Linked DNA regions of Homo sapiens: region 1 is linked to region 2. Evidence: promoter capture Hi-C in 16 types of primary human blood cells and fetal thymus (Javierre and others, 2016). All regions are on one chromosome and are shown on one strand. Each heading gives the region's core, a stretch centred on a gene start or on the middle of the fragment in contact. The rest is flanking DNA. Distances are from core to core; before and after follow the strand shown.

The links. The method cuts DNA at HindIII sites, captures the fragments that hold promoters and counts their contacts. A CHiCAGO score of 5 or more calls a contact.
Region 1: a fragment that was not itself captured here is called in contact with the fragment with the promoter of POFUT2 in region 2 in 1 of 17 cell types (endothelial precursors); the score reaches 6.9 in endothelial precursors.

What each region holds. Positions count from the first base shown.
Region 1 is chr21:45,460,199-45,463,499 of GRCh38, reverse strand. All of the region lies in intron 2 of COL18A1 (collagen type XVIII alpha 1 chain), which reads right to left. Among named protein-coding and RNA genes, the nearest start is that of MIR6815, 16 kb to the left of the region's middle. The HindIII fragment of the contact is 1,526 bases long and covers 1,184-2,709 here.
Region 2 is chr21:45,286,034-45,289,375 of GRCh38, reverse strand. It overlaps POFUT2 (protein O-fucosyltransferase 2), which reads left to right and starts at 1,481. Exons shown (of 9, transcript NM_133635.6): 1 at 1,481-1,635. The coding sequence starts at 1,505. LINC00205 (long intergenic non-protein coding RNA 205) reads right to left here and starts at 1,324. Exons shown (of 3, transcript NR_026943.1): 1 at 1,132-1,324; 2 at 1-25. RefSeq lists an enhancer at 140-870 and a silencer at 1,025-1,554. The HindIII fragment of the contact is 9,019 bases long and covers 1-3,342 here.

The DNA.
Region 1 (3,301 bases), core at 697-3,196, 170 kb before region 2:
GGCAGAATTTGTCTTAGAACTCTTTTGGAACTCTGGAGTCTACTGAAAGCTTGCAATGTCCACAGGAAGGCTTGGACGGTAACGGGTGGTTAATTTAGCTAAACCCCAGCTCTTGGCACAATAGCAGCCACACATCCATCCTCCACCCCCATTCCCATAGCAGGTGCCATGCACGAGTTCCTGGAGCAGCAGCCACACAGCTTGTGGGAAACAGGACGGCAAAAAGGACCCTGTCCTGCAGACATCGAGAACCTGTGCTCTGATCAGGTTGCCTGGGATCACAGATGTGCAGACAGGGAGGTGGGGCCATTGTTTTACACTCCCTCTGTTGTTGCAAGCTGCCCCTTCCAGCTGAAGTGACTTGAAGGGGATTTAGAGGGCTGGCACTGTTTTTTCTCCCTCATTTTTATCTTATTCCTCCTTTGGGAGCCAAACATGAAAGAACGGGACATTGAAAAACAGCAGCATGTAAGAGGAAAATTAGAAAGTGGCTGCACACACCCAGGGAAAGGGACAGGCTCAGAAAAGACCTGAGAAGACCTGAAGTTCACACCTAAGGGAGATTTCTGGCACAGACACAAAACATTTTTTAAAAAGTAACAAAAAAAAGCGAACGCTGGTGAAGGGCAAAATTCAAGAGCCACATTACTGAGTTCAAATGTTCACTTTTTAACACAAAATCACAAGGCACACAAAGCAATAAGAAAATATAGCACATTCAAAGGAGAAAAATAAATTAACAGAAGCTGTCTCTGCAAAAGACCTGATGGCAGATCTACTAGACAAAGACTTTAAAATGACTGTCTTAAAGATGCTCAAAGAACTACAGGAAGGTGTGGAGAAAGTCAAGAAAGTGATGTATGAACAACATGGAAATATCAATATAAAAACCTTGAAAGAAACCAGAAAGAAATTACAGAACTGAAAAGTACAATAGCTGAAATTGAAAACATCACTAGAGGAATCTGAAGGTGATTTGAGCAGACAAAAGAATAAATTAATGAGCTTGAAGATAAGATAATGGAAATTTTCAAAGACAAAAGATGAAAGAAAGGTGAAAAGAGCCTAAGGGGCTTGTGGCCACCATCAAGAGACAAGGAAGCATGCATGCCGTGGAAGCTGCAAACAGAAGAGAAAAAGAAAGGTGCAGAGAGACTATCTGAAGAAATAATGGCTGAAAGCTTCTCAAATTTGTTGGGAGACATGAATATAAACAGTTAAGAGCTCAGGGAACTCCAAGTAAGGTAAACTCAAAGAGACTCACACCAAGTTACATTATCATCAAACTTTCAAAAACAGAGAGAGAATCTGGAAAGCAGCAAGAGAAAAGCAACTGATCACATCCAAGGGCTTCTTAATAAGATTATCAGCAGATTTGTCACAGAAACTTTGGAAGCCAAAAGGCAGTGGACCAATATATTCAATGTACTAAAAGAAAAAAAAAACTGTTAACCAAGAGTCCTATATCCAGTAAAACTGTCCTTCAAAAGTGAGGGAGAAATTGGCATTCCCAGATAAACAAAAGCTAAGGGAGTTAATTGCCACTAGACCTGCCCTGCAGAAAATGGTCCAGGGAGTCCAGCAGGTAAAATGAAAGGACACTAGTCAATAACAGTAAGTCACATGAAGAAATGAAGATCTCAATAAAGGTAAATACATGGGCAATTATAAAAGCTGGTATTGCAACAACAGTTTGTAACTGCACTTTTTATGAATGAACCTGGAGGATATTAAACTAAAGGAAATAAGGCAGGCATAGAAGCAAATACTGCATGATCTCACATGTGGGATCTAAAAAAGTCACATTCATAGGAGCAGAGTAGAATGGTGGTTGTCAGGGGCTGAGGTCTAGGAAGGACAAATATGCGTGTGTGCCACAGATGTGGCTAGCAAGGAAGCCTCGAGGGGGGCCCAGCAGCCTGGCTCCAGACTGCTCTTCAGCATTGCAGCAGATGCAGGACAAGGAAGAGCCCTGCAGGGGGGCACCAGGAGACCAGCAGGTGTCCACCCTAATGGTGCAGGCCATCTGATAAGGGGTAGGGACTGGTGCCGGATGGACGGTGCCCATGCACAGAGTGGGGTGCAATGGGGCACAGCTGCCACCCCACTCTGTGCATAGGCAACGGGGGCCTCCTTGACTTACTGTTACTGAGTAGTGTCCTTTCATTTCGCCTGTTGGACTACTGGACCATTTCCTGCAGGGAAGGTCTAGTGGCAATTAACCCCCTTAGCTTTTGTTTATCTGGGAATGCTAACAGGGCACAGCCGAGGCCAGCCCACAGAGAAGAGGAAATGTGACTGTTGGTCGAAGGGTACAAAGTTTCAGTTATGCAGGAAAAGTAAGTTCTAGAGGTCTAATGTACACATGGTGATTACAGCTAGAATACTGTATCGCATATGGCACTTCAAACTTGAGTAGATCTTAAGTTTTCTCACCACACTCACAACGGTAACTGGTTGAAGTGATAGATGTCCACTAGCTTGACCTTAGATATATACAAAAACCCAAATATACGTAAAAGGACCTGCAGGAAGCCCTGTTTGGAGTGCTGTGCTTTTCATTCTGTCTGTGCTTAGTTCAGAATCACACAAGATCTTGTACCCACAGACAACTGCACCCAATGCACTGGGCCCTTGACACTCCAGTAGGAGTTAAATGCTGAGTCACTCTTGGTGCATCTAAGAGGCATGGAGAATTTACGAGAAGCTTAGCCAGCATCATCGAAAAAATATTTGTAGGTTGCCAAGCGGTGAGAGATAAGCATGAGTTATTTCCCAGAGTGGTCTTCTCCCTTCTTAAACCAAAGTTACATGGAAACATCAAACAAATCAAAGCATTTTAAGGAGAAGGGACATTTTCTCAAATTCTGCATTTGACTAAAGGAGCAAGAGGTAAGCACCATATAAGGACACCTGTGTGCCAGTGGCTGGCCCATGGGGTAGGGAGGAGCGATGAAGGAGCAGCCCCTCGGGGCCATCATGGTGACATGACCTTCACGTGCACTCCCGTGGCCTCCCACTGACCTCCGAATGTCCAGTGATGGGGGTGGAGGCAGAGGAAGCCCCAGCCCAGGGGCCTGTGCACCACTTTCCAAGATCACGGGACTCGTGCATTTGAGATGAGCGACTTGGCCGGCGTGTGTGTGGACCTGCCTCCCGAGCACCCCGGTGGCAGCTGTGCCCAGTTGCGCCCCACTCTGTGCACAGGCACTATCCATCCCGGCACTGGTCCCTGCCCTCATCAGATGGCCTGCACCACGAGGGTGGATGCCTGCTGGTCTCCTGGTGCTCCCCGGCTGGG
Region 2 (3,342 bases), core at 232-2,731:
GTACTGACTGATGTCTTATGTCTCCCTGAAATGAATAAAACCAAGCAGTAAAACAACCGCCTTGGGCCAAGTTCTCAGGACGTCCTGAGGCTGTGTCATGGGTCATATTTGGCTCAGAATAAATCTCTTCAAGTATTTTACAAAGTTTGGCTTTTTTTGTAAACAATAGGCAGATATAAATTCCATTTGCTAATTTTTTTAAATGCTGTGTCTTGGTTCATGAAAGACATTGGTCTGTGGTTCTACTGTCTGGTGATGTCTGACTTTGCTATCAAGGCAATGCTGGCCCATACATCGAGCAGGGAAGTGCCCCTCCTCGTCCATCGTCTGAGTGGCTGGATTCCTATTATTTCTTCTCTAAGTAGGATTCACCAGCTTGGCCCTCTGGGCCTGGAATTTTCTGTGTGAGAAAATTTGATAACAAATTGATCTCAAATTTAACAGATAATAAGCATTAGTATTTTCTTTTTTGGTAACTGGCATCCTTCAAGAAATTCGTCCAATTATACCGTTTTGGGGGCTGCCTGCACTAGAGTCAGCGTGGCGTCCCCTCAGAAGGCCGGGTTTGCCAGCGCCGCGCCCCAAGCCAGGTCGGTCGGCCAGTGCTGGTGCCCTCGGGGAACAGCGGGAGCTGCCTGGAGGCTGCGGGGAGCGGCGGCGGCGGGCACGCACCTGGCTCCCGAAACCAGACCTTTAATAACGCCTCGCAGAAGGGGCGGGGTGGGAGGTTGGCAGCGCAGGGGCGGCAGCCCCGGATCCCCCCAGGTCTCCAGATCACCCCATCGAGCCCCGCGCCCTAGCAGCACAGTCCCTCCAGGGCTCCTTGGAGGGCCAGGCCTCAGCCCGGGTGCCCCCTCGCCGGGGCTCCAGGGTTGGGGGCACCCAGGAGGCCGCAGGTGTGGAGCTCGACGGCGCCCCCCGACTAGAAACCCAGGCTCTCATGCGCGGCTCCCGCCCCGACCCCAGCTCCAGAGGGGCGAGAGCACCCGGCGCCGACCCCGTCTACGGACCCCCTCCTCCGCCCCGCCCCCGCCGTCCAGCCCTCCCGCCCCTACCAGCCCCGGGCCTCCTCCCCACGGACCCGCCCCGCGCCACCAGCCGTCAGCCCTCCCGGCCCCCAGTCTCGCGTACCCTCCCCACTGGCCTGCAGGGTCCACCGACTTCCCGACCCCGGGACCTCCCGACCCCCGGACCTCCCGGCCTCGCGGACCCTCAGGAGCCCCTGCGTGGGCTGCGCCAGGGCGCCCGCGACAGCACCGCCGCGAACCACAGCCACGGCCTCCGGGTCTGCAATGGAACCTCTAGCCGCTGCGGTCAGGAGGGCGGAGACTCTGCGCACGCGCAGTTCCCCCTCCCGCCCCTGCTTGCCGGTGATGGCGCATAACGCATGCGCGGGGAGGGCGGAGCTGGGCGTTGCCGTGGCTACTGGGAACGCATTTCACGGGGGCGGGGCGTGGTTCCGGGGCGGGGCGCGGCCGCCGGAAGTGCGTGGCCGCCCGGGGCCATGGCGACACTCAGCTTCGTCTTCCTGCTGCTGGGGGCAGTGTCCTGGCCTCCGGCTTCTGCCTCCGGCCAGGAGTTCTGGCCCGGACAATCGGCGGCCGATATTCTGTCGGGGGCGGCTTCCCGCAGACGGTAAACGCGCGTCCACGGTGCCAACGCTGGGGTTCCAGGACCGGGCAGGGTCAGAGGATGGGATGGGGGCGGGGCGGGGTCAGGGGCCAGGGAGATGGGATGGGGTCAGGGGCAGGCCCACGGGATGGAGGGTGGTCCGGGGCCAGGGAGATGGAATGGAGCGGAGTTATGGGGCAGGGGCCAGGGGGATGGGATGGAGCGGGGTCAGGGGGCAGGGGTCAGGGGAATGGGATGGGGTCAGGGTTCTGGGGCAAGGAATGTGGCGGAGTAAGGGGCCAGGGTGATGGTATAGGGGCAGGGGGCAGGGGCCAGGAGGGATGGGATGGGGGCGGGGCAGGGATCAGGGCGATGGGATGGGATGGGGGCGGGGCAGGGGCCAGGGTGATGGGATGGGATGGGGGCGGGGCAGGGGCTAGGGCCAGGAGGGGTGGGATGGGATGGGGGCAGGAACGGGGGCCCGAGGGATGGGATGGGGGCGGGGCGGGAGCCGGGGCCAAGAAGGATGGGACGGGGACGGGACAGGGGCAGGGGCAGGGGCAGGGGCCGGGGCCGGGCTGGAGTCTGGGGGATGGGATGGGGCGGGGGCTGGGGGCAGGGTCGGGCCAGCGGGTTGGCTGTAGTCGAGGCTGCGTCACTGCGGCCCGGGTCTGCAGGCGGGGTCGTCTGCGAGGCCCGGGGCGCAGCCTCGGGAGCCCAGGAAGGGGGCCGGGTTGCTCAGGCTGAGCGTGGGCTGGCTCCGGAGGCCCCTGCAAGTGACACGGGTCCAGGCCTGGGTGTGCGGAGCCGGGAGTCAGTGCCGGGCGGGCGCTCCGCAGTGAATTCTCAGGGCCAAGACGAGCTTCGCGGCCGCCCTGTGGCTGTGGGATCTCCAAGCGGACCCCGGGAGGGGCCTGGACGCAGAGGTGTGCACGGCCCCTCGTGGCGTTCGCAGGCCTGGGCGCTGCACGCAGCTTCACTCGCGACGATGGGAGTATGGAAAACCAGCGCAGAGCAGGGAAAGGAGAGCGCCAGGGACAGGGTTTCTGTAGCCCTTGGGGACTTGTCTGTGCCTTGGGGACTTGTCTGTGCCTTGGGGCGCTTTGTGTCCTTCCTCTAGGGCAGTGATCTTAAAGTGTGTCCTGGATCTCTGAGCTTTTGTAGCCGTTTTAATAGTAGTACCAGAGTATTATACGCCTTTTTCACTTCTCATGAATGCACTGTGGAGTTTTCCTAGAAACCACTTGATCTGTGATGTCACAACAGATTGAATGCAGAAACGGGTATGGGAATCCAGCTGTCACCAAACCCAAAAGAGATTTGCAAAAATTAAGAACATCATCACAGTTCTTCTAATTCATTTTTTAAAATACACTTATTTTTTATTTAAATATGTGGTTTTTGTTAACATGTAATGGCTTCTTATTTTTAGCTGAATTAAATACTTGTAGCTTTAACGTCTAACATAGGACGTATCAATAGACATAGTGCACATAACCAGCCGTCAGTCATTGTTTCCAGTGTAAAGGGGTCTTTAAACCAAACAGTTTGAGAACCATGTGGGTACTGATTCTTGGGTTCCAGTCACTGGGATTCCTCTGCCTTAGTGTTGAACTATTGCTAATTGTTAAAACGATGTTAGCATGTCTGCTGCTTCTGCTTACAGGCTCCGTAAGTAACTGGTCATAGAGAAACAGGCCACTCACTGCCTTCACAAACTAGGAACCATTG